2 separate regions of the Homo sapiens genome follow, and region 1 is linked to region 2. Evidence: promoter capture Hi-C in human tissues and cell types (Jung and others, 2019). All regions are on one chromosome and are shown on one strand. The core of a region is centred on a gene start or on the middle of the fragment in contact, and the rest is flanking DNA. Distances in the headings are between cores, read along the strand shown. Region 1 overlaps TXNRD2 (thioredoxin reductase 2). Region 2 holds the start of DGCR6 (DiGeorge syndrome critical region gene 6).

What was found. The method cuts DNA at HindIII sites, captures the fragments that hold promoters and counts their contacts. A contact is called where the count stands out against the background at its distance.
Region 1: a contact is called between a fragment that was not itself captured here and the fragment with the promoter of DGCR6 in region 2, in 1 of the 25 tissues and cell types used here (dorsolateral prefrontal cortex).

Annotation. Positions count from the first base shown.
Region 1 is chr22:19,933,756-19,941,335 of GRCh38, forward strand. All of the region lies in intron 1 of TXNRD2 (thioredoxin reductase 2), which reads right to left. LOC124905081 (endogenous retrovirus group K member 24 Gag polyprotein-like) reads left to right here. Exons shown (of 2, transcript XM_047441689.1): 2 at 2,084-4,234. The coding sequence starts at 3,106. The coding sequence ends at 4,071. Among named protein-coding and RNA genes, the nearest start is that of COMT, 4.2 kb to the right of the region's middle. RefSeq lists enhancers at 6,641-7,211, 7,212-7,580. The HindIII fragment of the contact is 4,369 bases long and covers 1,619-5,987 here.
Region 2 is chr22:18,901,784-18,908,945 of GRCh38, forward strand. It overlaps DGCR6 (DiGeorge syndrome critical region gene 6), which reads left to right and starts at 4,537. Exons shown (of 5, transcript NM_005675.6): 1 at 4,537-4,701; 2 at 4,782-4,942. The coding sequence starts at 4,592. RefSeq lists enhancers at 1,631-2,490, 2,491-3,348, 3,466-4,004, 4,005-4,542, 4,543-5,080 and 1 more and a silencer at 2,934-3,117. The HindIII fragment of the contact is 41,571 bases long and covers 1-7,162 here.

The DNA.
Region 1 (7,580 bases), core at 2,553-5,052, 1.0 Mb after region 2:
GGGAGGAAGGGCTGGGTGGCAGGCGTTACCTGGGGACACACCACCTGTGCACTCCAGTGTCCTGGAGAACCTCATAACCTTGCCTTTCACCCACTTTAGCCAGGCATACCCTCTCCACCTGCAGGGCTTGGCCCCAGCAAGTGTCTGTCTTGCCTCTGCCTTCTGACATATTGTCCATTAATTTTCTGCTCCTCTTTGAACCCACTGCCTGGTACAGGCCAGCAAAGAGCAGGAGCCCAGAGCTCATAGCAAGGCCCAAGAGAATGCAGCACTGCACCAGTGAGGGCAAGTGGAAGGGTCCCCCAAAATGTGCACCCACAGGCAGGCTGGCCACCTCAGGGTGCCACCTCAGGGGCCCTCCTGTATGGCTGCTCTATCTAGAGCTCTTTCCTGGCAGCAGGTGTTGTCATTCTGGCTCCTGTTCAGGGGCTGCATCGCCCACCCACTCCAAGCCTGGGACAGTTCAGGTCTTCCTACTCTAAAAGGAGAAACTGCAGGGCCCACAGTCCCAGCTACTAGGGAGGCTGAGGCTGGAGGGTGAGTTGAACCCAGGAGTTCAAGGCTGCAGTGAGCTATGATAGCACCACTGCACTCCAGCCTGGTTAACAGAGTGAGACTCTGTCTCAGAAAAAAAAAAAAAAAAAAACTGCACCCCTAGTCTGGGTACAGTGGCTCACACCTGTGTTGCAGGAAGTCAGGAACCCCGAATGGAGGGACTGGCTGGAGCCGTGGCAGAGGAACATAAATAGTGAAGATTTCATTTCAATATGAACATTTATCAATTCCCAAGTAATACTTTTATACTTTTTTCTTTTTTTTTTTTTTGAGGCAGATTCTCTCTCTGTCGCCCAGGCTGGGGTGCAGTGGCACAATCTCAGCTCACTGCAAGCTCCGCCTCCTGGGTTCACACCATTCTCCTGTCTCAGCCTCCTGAGTAGCTGGGACTACAGGCACCCGCCACCACACCTGGCTAATTTTTTGTACTTTCAGGAGAGACAGGGTTTCACCATGTTAGCCAGGATGGTCTTGATCTCCTCACCTTGTGATATGGCTGCCTCGGCCTCTCAAAGTGCTAGGATTACAGGCATGAGCCACCGCGCCTGGGCCCCCAAGTAATACTTTTATAATTTCTTATGCCTGTCTTTATCTCTTAATCCTGTTATCTTCATAAGCTGATAATATACATCACCTCAGGACCACTGTGATAATTGTGTTAACTGTAGAAATTGATTGTAAAACGTGTGTTTGAACAATATGAAATCAGCGCACCTTGAAAAAGAACAGAATAACAGTGATTTTTAGGGAACGAAGACAACCATAAGGTCTGACTGCCTGTGGGGTCAGGCAAAAAGAGCCATATTTTTCTTCTTGCAGAGAGCTTATAAATGGACGTGCAAGTAGGAGAGATATCGCTAAATTCTTTTCCTAGCAAGGAATATTACTATTAAGACCCTGGAAAAGGAATGCATTCCTGGGGGGAGGTCTGTAAACGGCCACTCTGGGAGTGTCTGTCTTATGCGGTTGAGATAAGGACTGAAATACGCCCTGGTCTCCTGCAGTACCCTCAGGCTTATTAGGGTGGGGAAAAAACTCCGTCCTGGTAAATTTGTGGTCAGACTGGTTCTCTGCTCTTAAACCATGTTTTCCGTTGTTTAAGATGTTTATCAAGACAATATGTGCACAGCTGAACATAGACCCTTATCAGGAGTTCTGATTTTGCCCTTGTCCTGTTTCCTCAGAAGCATGTGATCTTTGCTCTGCCTTTTGCCCTTTGAAGCATGTGATCTTTGTGACCTACTCCCTATTGGCACAACCCCTCCCCTTTTAAAATCCTTAATAAAAACTTGCTGGTTTTGCGGCTCAGGTGGGCATCATGGTCCTACCGATACGTGATGTCACCCCCAGCAGCCCAGCTGTAAAATTCCTCTTTGTACTCTTTCTCTTCATTTCTCAGCCGGCTGACACTTACAGAAAATAGAAAGAACGTACGTTGAAATATTAGGGGCAGGTTCCCCCAATATCTGGCGCCCAACGTGGTTTTCTTTTTCCTAAGTGCATGTGGGAACCCGATTCCCTTTGGTAGGTGCGGAGAAATGTTCATCGGTCCAGTCCACAGAAATGCTTGTTTGGCTCCCCAACGATTGGTGAGTTGTCTGTGTATTCTCCGGGGTAACTATGGGTCACGCAGAGTCTAAACATTATGCTTATCTCTGCTATATTAAATTCCTGTTAAAATGGGGGAGTTCGGGTTCCCATGGAAAATATGGTCACCCTATTCAGGGCAGTGGAAGAACACTGTCCTTGGTTTCCTGAAAAGGGAACGTTAGATGTGGAACTATGGGATCATGTTGGTGCAAAATTCCGAGAACTGGTCCCAACAGGAAATTATGTTCCTGTCACTGTTTGGGGTGATTGGGCCTTGGTACGTGCCATCCTAATGACATACCAATCCCGTGACACCCTGCAGTTACCACAGTTTTCTGAATCTGGCCACCCTCTACCTCTTCCTCAGCTTTCCTCTCCCACTCGGCCTTCATTATCTGCTCAGCCCCTCCCTTTGCCTACTCCTCCCCCACCTGACGATACTGAGGATTCAATATCTAACTCCAGTGACTTTGGCTTAACATCACCCCCTGATGATCTTATTTCTTTTCACGAAGAGCCGACACTTGTAGCTCCTGCGGCCCCAACTCAGACAGCCCAGGACCATATCTATGCTAACTCTTCCCTCTCCAAACCTTTACAGTCTTTGCCTCCGGAGCCATCCAAACTACAATTTACCTGTAATTCTGCAGGCCCTCCCCCATCCACCACAGCCCCTCACCCTCCTATCATTTTGGTCCCTCAACCGGTCACTTTGCCATCCACTCAACCTGCTTCTCTGTACCCTTCTTCATGCAGGGACACCCCTGCCACTCTGGTTGTGCAGGACTGGGCCAGTAATCACCAGTATGCTTCTGCCTCTTCTGCTCCCCCAATGCCCCTTTCTCACACTCTTATACCAGTCCGACCCCGTCAATCTCAGTTTCTCTTATCTATACATACTTTTCCTGTCACTTCTATGCCGACTCTATCTCATGTGCCTGCTCTTGAAACTTTCATGCAATGCTTATTACGCCAAAACAAACAAGTAGATTAGAGGCGTGGGCTTATTCGGTCATGCTGGAACCTCCTAATGCTCAAGGGGTACAAGTGTGTCGATATACGCCGCTCAATCTTACCTTTTTAAAAGAATTCAAGGATGCTTGTACTCAGTATGTTCCTACTTCTCCATATGTTAAAACGGTATTACAGACTCTTTGTACCGAGGTCATTTTGCTTCCTATAGACTGCGACCTTTTGGCAAAAGCTGTTCTAACTCCATCTCAGCATTTACAATTCCATACCTGGTGGTCAGAGGAGGCCCGCCTGCAGGCTCAGCTAAATCGGGCTGATGGCATTCCAATTACTCAGGCTCAGCTCACAGGCTCCGATAATTACTCTGATACTACTGCTCATTTAGGCTTTGATGCTCTCACCACGGAACAAGTAACAAAGGTGTGTATGAGAGCTTGGGATAAATTACGCACCCCAGGCCAAGCTTCTGTTTCTTTTACTATTGTTAAACAGGGTCACAATGAATTATATCTTGATTTTTTAGCTAAATTACAAGATGCTGTTGAAAAATCTGTCTCTGATGAGCACACTCAAGGTATTCTTCTTCATATGTTAGCTTTTCAAAATGCGAACCATGAGTGTAAAATGGCCGTGCATTCCATCCTACGTCAAAATTTACCTGATCATGAGGTGTTGCCTGCATATATTAAAGCTTGTGAAGGCGTTGGATCGGAGACCCACAGAGCTATTCTGTGGGCACCGGCCATGAAGCACGGCAACCAAACTGGCTCGACTGATTCTTTTCTTGGAGCCTGCTATAATTGTGGCCAACTTGGTCATACCCAAAAAAACTACACTGTTAAAAACTTAAAAGCGGCCAAGCCGGCTCAACAAACACGGCCAAATGCTCCTGCTACTGTTTGCCTGCGTTGTCGTAAGGGTAAACATTGGGCAAGTACTTGCCACTCAGTCTGATATAGATGAAAATCCCTTGCCACAGAACCAGGGAAACAGGAAGCAAGGCCAGTCCCAGGCCCCAATATCAAATGGGACACCTCGGACTCAGACCAATGTTGTGTTTTTGCGTCAAGCAGTCCCAACGCAGCCCCCAGCACAAACAAATTTACCTACAGCCAATCCAGATGGGTCCCAGCCTCTTCTTCTGTCTCAGTACAATGCTTGTCTACCTCCACAGTAGGCAGCAGGGCGGTCGATCTCTGTAGTACCATTCCTCTAAATTTACTACCTAATTCTTTGCCTTTAATTGTCCCCATGGGGGTCACTGGCCCTTTACCTCAAGGTTCGGTGGGCCTGGTGTTAGGCAGGGCATCCACCTCATGATACTAAAGGTATCATAGTTCATACTAGTCTCATTAATTCTGATTCCTCTGATGAGATTAAACTTATGTAAACTTATGGTGTCTGCCAAAGTTCCTGTTTCCATTCCGGCCAGTGAGTCAATTGCTCAATTACTTTTACTACCTAACATTGTTTTAAACAAAGGAGATAAGACATGGGGCCCTGGGATGGGCTCCAGCGGTGAAAAAGCCGCTTATTGGATTAATGTAATTTCTAAACAATGGCCTACCTGCACCATACACATTCAAGGAAAAAAGGTTGAGGGCCTAGTTGATACTGGGGCTGATGTTTCTATTATTTCCTCTAATTTATGGCCTTCCTCCTGGCTTAAACATCCCACTAACATGAAACTAGAAGGTGTTAGAAAAGCTGAAGAAGTTCACCAGAGCACATTTATCTTGGCTTGCACTGGCCCTGATGGTCAAAAGGGAACAATTCAGCCTTATATCATGCCCATCCCCATTAATCTTCGGGGCAGAGATTTGCTGGCACAAATTGGGGCTGAAATTAATATTCCACATAACTTTTACAGTGCTCCCAGTCAACATATAATGGAAAACATGGGGTTTGTTTCCAGACTCGGTCTCGGTCCAAAACGTGAAAAAATTACTAAACCTCTTCAAGTTACTGTAAAAGAAGACAAGGCTGGTTTAAAAGCATAATTTAACTACTCCCCACTCCCAATTATATTTAGCATTGTTTAAGCTTTCTAAATGTTCCTAAAAACAATACTCTGACTGCAGCTAAATGCCATTATACAGGCAAAAAATTCTCCCTAAACGAAGGCAAGCCAGTGTCATGGAAAAACTCCCAAACCAATACCTGGGAACCTGGAACAATTATAACGTGGGGAAGAGGGTATGCTTGTGTTTTACCAGGAGATCGTCAATCCCGTCTGGGTGCCCACTAGGAGACTTAAACTTCGTGTGAATACTGACAATAAAAACCACGAGGAAGAGACGTTCGCGTCAGAGACTGCCCTCATACCTGATGAGATCTGTACCGACTCCTCAGAAACTGGCATGCCAAATCAAAATGGGTCTGGTTCAATCCTCCCTAATGGCAATGTAAACCCCTCTAACTAATCCCACTTCTCCTAATTATCTTTTTCTCCTTACGAACCTAAAAATCTCACCATTTCTATTAGCCTGAAAATAACATCCCTCTGTTCTTCTCTTCCTCCTTCAGCACTGGATCTCACTTACAATAGGTTTTATTTAATAATTATCTTCCTTACACTTTCTGTCTCACCAGTTTCCCCTTAAACTGATTTACCTGCTACACAAAATTATTCTTATTGGGCTTATGTGCCTTTTCCTCCACTTATTCGACCTCTCACCTGGATGGATGCTCCTGCAGAAATCTATACTAACGATAGTGTGTGGATGCCTGGAACTACAGATGACCGTTGCACCGCTCAGCCAGGAGAAGGCACTGCATTTAATGTTACTATGGGTTATAAATACCCTCCTCTGTGCCTTGGACATGCACCTGGTTGTATCCATCTAGAAGCTCAAGTCTGGGCTGCTTGTCTTCCAGAGAGATTAGCTATAGGGAAATGGGGACATTTGGTCTCTGGCCTCTCCCTTTCTCCTTTAAGACAAATAAAAAGAGGAGTAATAGGAGATACCCCATACTTTCAATATAAACCTGTAGGAAAACCATATCCTAAAAATTTTGAGGGCCCATCTAAAACTTCAATTTGGGAATGATTGTGTTAACTCACATGCAGTAGTATTAAAAAATGACTCGGCTGGGCGCAGTGGCTCATGCCTGTAATCCCAGCACTTTGGGAGGCCAAGGCAGGTGGATCATGAGGTCAGGAGATTGAGACCATCCTGGCTAATACAGTGAAATCCCGTCTCTACTAAAAATACAAAAAAAATTAGCCAGGCGTGGTGGCAGATGCCTGTAGTCCCAGCTACTCGGGAGGCTGAGGCAGGAGAATGGCGTGAACCCGGGAGGCGGAGCTTGCAGTGAGCTGAGATCGCACCACTGTACTCCAGCTTGGGCGACAGAGCAAGACACTGTCTCAAAAAAAAAAAAAAAAAAAAAACCCCAAAAAAACAACTCATATGGTTTAGTAACAGACTGGGCACGAAAGGGCTATTTAAAAAACAGTTGCTCCTCTGGCGGAAAGGAATGCCTGGAGACTACTTATTTTATTTCTTACTGGGAGGACCAGGATCATCATCCTATTTTGCATAGAAGGTTCAGTTTGTTCTTTCCCTTAAAATAGGAAGATAAGGGCATTATCCCCCTAAGTCTCGTATGATATTCCCCATTCTGAGTCCAGAATACCTAGAAATTTGGAATTTGGCTATTGCCGTGTCTGGACTGTGAGTATGGGAAGGGGAAGCTTTTCTGTCTGTTGTCCCCACTACCGCCCCTCACATCCGTGATTCTGAACCCCATGATAAATGCCCTTTGAACCTTTTTCCTCCTTTTGATGCCGAATCCCCTTTTATGGGACTCCGCCAGCACGGGTGCATTTAACCTTCCTGAGCTTGCCCACCTGACGCATGCAGCCAAGAAGCTTTGAAAGATGGAGTGCCCTGGCTGAGGGTTCCAGGTCTCAGCAAGGCCACGAGGTGGTGACTGCCTCCCAGAACTCTGTTGGGCCACCCTCCGTCCTGGAGACCCCCAAAACCTCCATAGCACCAACTCTGCCCATTCACACACACAGTCAGCCCTCCCTCCCGAGTCCACCGCGGGCAGAGGGCCAGCCACCATGCCTCCCATAGCCGCCATCCCTGGGAAGGAGCCCTGACCCCGTCCTTACACCCCTCTACACTCACTGCCTGTGGGGAGAGCTGCTCGCTGTCACAAGCATCCAGGGGGCTGGGTCGAGGGGCCCCCTGCATGGTGGGGGACCATGTTGTCGTGCATGGAATGAAACTGGCCACACATAACAGATATGGTGGCGCTCTGGTCGGATCTAGGGGAGTCTGTCCTACAGGATGAGGCTTGAACTGTCCTGAGTGACCAGACACCCAGCCTCTGCTTCGAGTGCTCAGTTATGATTATTGTCCTGATTTAGTTAACTGTTCTTCAGGGGCTCCAGGAGGACGAGTGTGTATCCTCCCATTGCTCTGTGCAGCCTCTAACCTCTAGAGTCTAGGGGT
Region 2 (7,162 bases), core at 3,287-5,786:
AGCTAGTAGTGGGATCTGTCGTGGACTGAGTTTGATTCCAAGAACAGAAGAGGCAGGACCAGTGAGAAATAGCACAGACATATTTGCAAAAGCAGCCCTCCCACGTTAGGAAGAAGGGATACTTTTGCACAGTGAACAGCACTACAACTGCTCATGTCTTTCATGTACTATCACACATGGAATGACTGAGATAATCCTGTGTTCCACACATAGTCCTCCTCCCATCCCCCACCACTTAGGCAAGAGCTGTGCCCAGGAAATGTCACCCGTAACTGGTCTGCACAGACCCTGTCTTCTAAAAGGGTGCTGTGCCTCCACCAGACCCCATGAGCAATACATTTGTCAAGCACACGCGAGACATGCCAAGGCCAAGGCCTGACTGATTTGACAGTAAAGACACAATGAGCCCCTCTCATTCAGAGCTTATTACTCACAGAGTGAAAATAAGAGAAGTCTGAGGTGGCAGCTCCCTGCCATCCTGGTGCCACACACTAAAAAGGACAGCACCGAAACAAAAGGGGTCAGAGGGCATGCATTGCAGGACACCCAATGCAGAGGAGCCCCTTGAGACTGCAGCTGGGTGGTGTCCTCATCTGCAGCTCTGTTGTGAGGGCCAGGGGCAGGGCAGTGAGGAACCCTCACCAGGGCCAGTGAGGCAGGCAGTGAGGAACAGTCTTGGGAGACAGAGGAAGTGACCAGTGGCCTGGGTGCAGCCTGATGTTCTGGGAGGAGCAGGCTTAGGTCAGGTGCTGTGTGCACCTCTGTGTGGCCTATGGGGATCCTGCAATGGCTCAGGGTCTCACGGCAGAGCTGTTTCTCTGCCCACACAATGGACTCACAACCTGACACACGAAAATTCACAGAGAAACACAGAAAGGCACACGTGACACTCAAAGACAGACCCACACAAAAGCCATGCAGCAAAGCCTTTTGCCACACATGCACATGCACACACACACACACAGGCTCCCATCCTTTCAAACCACAGACTTGGTGTTTGCCCAGACACACCTGTGTCAGAGAAAGGGGATCTGCAGCTCCCCAACATACACCAGTCACTCCACACTAACCCAAGGTGTCACCAGCCAGCCTGGAGGACTTGGGAAGCTAAGTGGAGGTGGACAGTGGCCACAGAGCAAAGGCCTTCAGTGGATACCACCTGATGTAAAGAGCCATGGGGTCCACCATGTGCACGCACACAAGGGGCACACATGTCTGCGCACCAGCTCCCCCATTCCTACACACATATCACCCATCCCTAGGGCTCTGGGGGATGAGACCCCTCCCTGAAGACCCACAGGAGTCCCCATGCCTGAGTGACCCACTGCTCACGTCCATGCAAAAGAAAAGAACTTTTTATCTGAGGAATGCGAGACCCCTTTAATTATCTGGCCCAGAGAGTCACTGGACTGAAACAGCAGTCACATGTCACTCCCACTTGAGCTAACGACCTCTTGAAGCCAATTGCTCTGTGGGTTCCAGACTGACACCAAGTAGACATAAAAAGCCAGACGCTGGACACCATAACTCTTCCCCTGTAGTCCAACACCTTATAGCCAGTCACTAAGGTTCTCTCTGGAAAGCAGTCAGAATTCCTGCTGACTTCATATCAGCCCACTCCTTGTCCCCTTCAGTCTTTAAAAACTTGCTTGTAATAAGGCTGAATGAAGTACTCCCAGGGCAACTTGGTGTGTCCTGGGCAGCTCTCTCAGCCTTGGTCCAGACAAACTCTCTATATGAACTGTGGTTCAGTTTGTTTCTTTAGGTCGACATCCACATTAGGGGAGCAGTGCTGCTGGGCTGGGGAAGCTGGTTCAGGTCAGATGTTGCACCAAGGGTTGGAGAAGGGGCCTTCCTGCATCAGCACCCGGACAAGGCAGAGGAGCAGGTGTCCAAACCCAGGCCTGGTCTGCTGCTGCTGTGGCTCACAGCCCCCACCCCACCTGGCAGACCTGGCAGACCCCGGAGCTGGCGACAGTGTTGCCCAGCTGGCCACAGACATATCATCACGTGGGGCTGCCCTATATGCTCCCAGTCTCCACACAGACACCCTTCATGGACTGGGGGACTGAGGGCAGGGACACTGGTGAAACAGGCAGGCATCTTCACCCAGCTACTCATCCCACTCACCACCTCCGGGGGAGGTGACAGTGACCAAGCCCAGCCCCAGCTGGCTCCTGGTCACTCACTACAGACTCAGCTCCCACAATCTCGAATCCCACCTCCAGCTCCTGCCATTCCGAGGGACCTGGAGGCCAGGGTGCCCGGCGCATGACCAGCTCTGGGTTGTGGACCGCCCTCCACGGCAGTGGCCTGAGCGCTTGTTGTCATTATTCACTTTATTCACTCCTGGTTTCTGTCTGGAAGGGATCACAAAGACATGGCTTGCAGGGGAGCCAATCCTGCCAGGGACTGAGGAAACAGATCCTGGAGAAAACCAGAGACTTTGCTGGCACTTCAGGGGGACCCCAGTTGGCTCAATGCCCCCCTCTCCCCCATAGCCAACTGCTAACCAATGTTCTCTCTGGAAACCAGTCATAATTCCTAACCTGGTCAAAGCAGGGTCATCTCACACAGCCCAGCCACCCATTCTTTAGCACCGCAGGCAGCTAAAGAATGCCTGGTGAAATGCAAGTCTGATCGTGTCTGCGTCCCCAAGCCCTTCCGTGCCCCCTGCTGCTCTTTGGACAAGCCCCCAGCAGCCTCTGTAATGCACAGCACCCGCCCTTGTCTCCTGTGCTGGCTTCCGCAGCCTGGCCACACTGGTCCTCTCGCCCATCCACCTGACCTGACTCTGGCAGGGCCTTTGCAGGAGCCATTCCTCCACCCGAACCCCTCCTATTAAAACGTGTTCCTAGCCGGTTCAGCCCCAGCCTGTAGGGACCAGCCCCACATGGTCGGTGGGTCTCTCCCCGTGTGCCGCAACGAGAGAGTGTAGAAATAAAGACACAAGACAAAGAGATAAAAGACAGCTGGGCCCGGGGGACCACTACCACCAAAGCGCGGAGACCGGTAGTGGCCCCGAATGTCTGGCTGCGCTGTTATTTATTGGATACAAAGCAAAAGGGGCAGGGTAAAGAGTGTGAGTCATCTCCAATGATAGGCAAGGTCACGTGGGTCACGTGTCCACTGGACAGGGGGCCCTTCCCTGCCTGGCAGCCGAGGCAGAGAGGGAGAGGAGACAGAGAGAAAGATAGCTTATGCCATTATTTCTGCATATCAGAGACTTTTAGTACTTTCACTAATTGACTACTGCTAGCTAGAAGGCAGAGCCAGGTGTACAGGATGACTAGGCATAATAAAGGCAGACTAGGAGCGGGACCACTGAAGCACAGCATCACAGGGAGATGGTTAGGCCTCCGGATAACTGCAGGCAAGCCTGACTCATGTCAGGCCCTCCACAAGAGGTGGAGGAGCGGAGTCTTCTCTAAACTCCCCCGGGGAAAAGGAGCCTCCCTTTCCCGGTCTGCTAAGTAGCAGGTGTTGTTCCTTGACACTTTTCACTACCGCTAGACCACGGCCCACCTGGCAACGGGCATCTTCCCAGACGCTGGCGTCACCGCTAGACCAAGGAGCCCTTCTGGTGGCCCTGTCTGGGCATAACAGAAGGCTCGCACTCTTGTCTTCTGGTCACCCCTCACTGTGTCCCCTTAGCTCCTATCTCTGTATGGCCTGGTTTTTCCTAGGTTATGATTATAGAGTGAGGATTATTATAATACTGGAATAAAGAGTAATTGCTACCAACTAATGATTATTGATATTCATATATAATCATATCTAAGATCTATATCTGGTATAACTATTCTTGTTTTATATTTTATTATACTGGAACAGCTCGTGTCCTCGGTCTCTTGCCTCAGCGCCTGGGTGGCTTGCCGCCCACACCAGCCACCAGAAGCTCCCCAGCCCCGGCCCAGCAGCTGGTCTGGGGAGCGGGGAGAGGGCAGTCTGGGCTCGCGGTTCCGGCTGGGGGCTGGGCACCCCGGGGCGACCACGGCAGGCCCAGATGGGGACTCCGGTTCCAACTCTCCTGGCCCAGAGGCTCTAGGGTGGTCTTGTCTGTCTCACTCCGGGGGCAGAGAGGACGCAGACAGACCCCAACACCACTGCTCGGCCGCGATGGTGCCTTAGACCCAGGTCCTGTGGGCTCTGGCCCGAGACCCCTCCCTCTGGGAAGGCCGGTGACCGGGACAGTCCACCTCGCAGGCGCGCCGGCGCGGAGCCCGGACCTCAGCCCGCAATGACTCAGCAAGGGCCGGTGGGATTCTACATGGTCCTGCGATATCCAGGCGACGGAGTCTCGCCTCTAAAGTGGCCCGGGGAGCAGGAAGGTATGAGCCTCAGCTGAGCGAAACCCTCCTTGCAGCCACCACGGAGGGACGGGGCGCGTCTCCTTCTGAATGACGCAAGGGGCGGGGCGCGTGGTGGGGCGGGGAAGGCGCGAGGCGCGCCGCGATCGGGGACTGTCCTAAGACGGGCGGGGCGCGCTGCGCTAGGGACTGTCATAAAAGGGGCGGGACGCGCCGCGGTCGGGATGACGTGAGCTGGGGGCGCTCGTCGCTGCAGCCGGCGGCTAGCGGGCGTCCGCGCCATGGAGCGCTACGCGGGCGCCTTGGAGGAGGTGGCGGACGGTGCCCGGCAGCAGGAGCGACACTACCAGCTGCTGTCGGCGTTACAGAGCCTGGTGAAGGAGTTGCCCAGGTACGCGGGCGGGGCGGGCGGCGGCCTGCCGAGGCCGCATCGTGTCCCGCCGGGGCTCACCGCGCTCCTCTACCCCGCAGCTCATTCCAGCAGCGCTTGTCCTACACCACGCTGAGCGACCTGGCCCTGGCGCTTCTCGACGGCACCGTGTTCGAAATCGTGCAGGGGCTACTGGAGATCCAGCACCTCACCGAAAAGAGCCTGTACAACCAGCGCCTGCGCCTACAGAACGAGCATCGAGGTGCGCGGGGGCAGCGGGAGGAGGTGCCGCCTCCTCGGGGTCGGCGCCTCCCGGCAGCTCTTGGTATCTGTGCAGCTCGGCTCCTTCCTTGGGAGTGTTCGGAAGAGGTCCCTAAGATTAACAAAATCAAGGGCGCAGAGACTGAGACAGCGCCTTTTTGGTGACCAATGTGTCCAACGAGTTTTGTTTTCAGTTGCGCAGCACCCACCTTCTTAGCAGAAACTCCCTGTTCGGGCTTCCCTGTGCCCCACCCCCTTCCAGGCCTGATGGCCCTAGGCCTCCGTGCTTGGTTGGCCGGCAGGCTGACTCTGGTGGTAGATCTGACTGCGTTGCCCTCCGGTAATTGGAGTTCTGTTGACAGGTGAGCAGCGCCCTTGGGTAGTTGGAGGTCTGTTGACAGCTGTGCGCGCCCTTCAGGGTCAGTTCCCTCTCAGGCCTGCAGGGCCTCATTCTAGTTGCACATCAAATTCCTAAGCACTGTCTCCTGTGGCGCCCTCCCAAACCAGAAGAGCTTCCCACTTGAGCCGCATGCTTCCTGGGCTTCGGAGCCCTTTCCTGCAAATTATATAGGGCAGGTCCCCCTGCACCATCAGATTTCCACCTTTGCTGTTTTATTTTTCCCAAACTTCTTATTTTAAAAGTTCAAACATTTGGAAAAACTGAAAAGACAGTGTAGTGCATACGCTTGTGCTCTCCACCGAAAGTTCAGTAGTTAACATTTTGCTCTAGTTCTTGACATCCCAAAATACATACATGTGACAGCATAGAATTCACCAAGAGTCTTCAGCATTCCTGGAGACCAGGATTTTCAACCCAGCCATGCTGACATTTGTGGCTGGGTAAGTCTTTATGGTGAGATGCTGTCTTGCGCATTGCAGGATGGCAGGGGTACCCTCCCTAGTCGTGAAAACCAAGAATGCCTCCAGACAACCTGGGTGGTGGGGTCAACCTTGGCCTTGGATTGGGAGCAAGTGCTCTAGAACAAGAGCGGTCTCCTACACAGCTGCAGAGGGTAGCCCCCTGAGAAATTAACTGTTCCAGGTGTCTCCTGACTTTCAGTGCATGGCCACATCATGGTACCTAACTTGTGGCAAATTGTTGCTTTATAAGTAAGGATCCAGTCCAAGTTCATGTACTACAATTGGTTACTTTGGTCTCTTTGCTTCTGGAACAGTCCCCAACATTTATTGTGGCATTGACTTTTTATAGAGTCTAATTCTATAATTAGAATGCCCTGCTCTGGATCTATCAGAGGAAATGCTTCCTCGTGCATTTAACCTGCTTCTCCACTCTCTGGGTTTACTGTACACTGGACTCCTGGTAGGAGCCTGATTAGAGGCAGGTTTAATGTGGCAAAAATTCCTCCTAGCGGGGCAAGGCCCCCTTCCCCAGAAGGCAGGCAGTGTCCATCTGCTCCAGGATTGGTGTGTTTCTATCAAGAATGGATGTTGGATTTTGGCAGTTTCCTTTTTGGCAGCTCTTGAGATGATCACGTGGTGAATCATTTTCTATTACTACAGTGAATTACAGTCACTTGAATTCCATCCTACTGGGTCGTGCTGTAGTATCCTTTTTATGTATGCTGGATTTGATTTGCTAAAATCTTGTTAAGAATTTTTTTGTCTATGTTCATGATAAACTGTGGTCTATAGTTTTCATGTAATACCTGGTTTGGGTATCAGGGTTTTTGCCAGCCTTATAGGATGAGTTTCGAAGTGTTCTCTCCTCTTCAGTTTTCCAGAAGAGTTTGTGTAGAATTGGCATTACTTCTTCCCCTAAATGTCTGGGTGACTGTCTTTTTAAAAATTTTATTGAGCTGTAAGATGCATGCAGTTTACTAATCCCAAGTGCATGGCTCATTATTCCTTAATGCTCAGACTGTGCCATGTGTGGCCAGTTGGGGGCGCTCCAGGCACCTTTAGATGCCGCCCCATCATTCTGTGAGCACTTTCTTGCTTTCTGGTTCAGGTATGTGTTCAGGCTCATCTTTTCTTGTTTTCTCCGTGTCTCAGTCCTGGAATCGGCCATTTTTCCACAGAGTTGTAGTTCTTTCTAGCAGGATGGGGAGTTTCAGTAACTGCCTGGGCCCAATGCTGTTTGTGCTTCAGAAGGTTTGGGCCAGGTCCTGGTTCCACCAGCAGCAGGCATGCCTGCGTTGACTTTCTGCTTCTCCTGCTGATTTGGCAGGGGTGACTGGCTGCTCCTGCCTCCTTTGTGTTC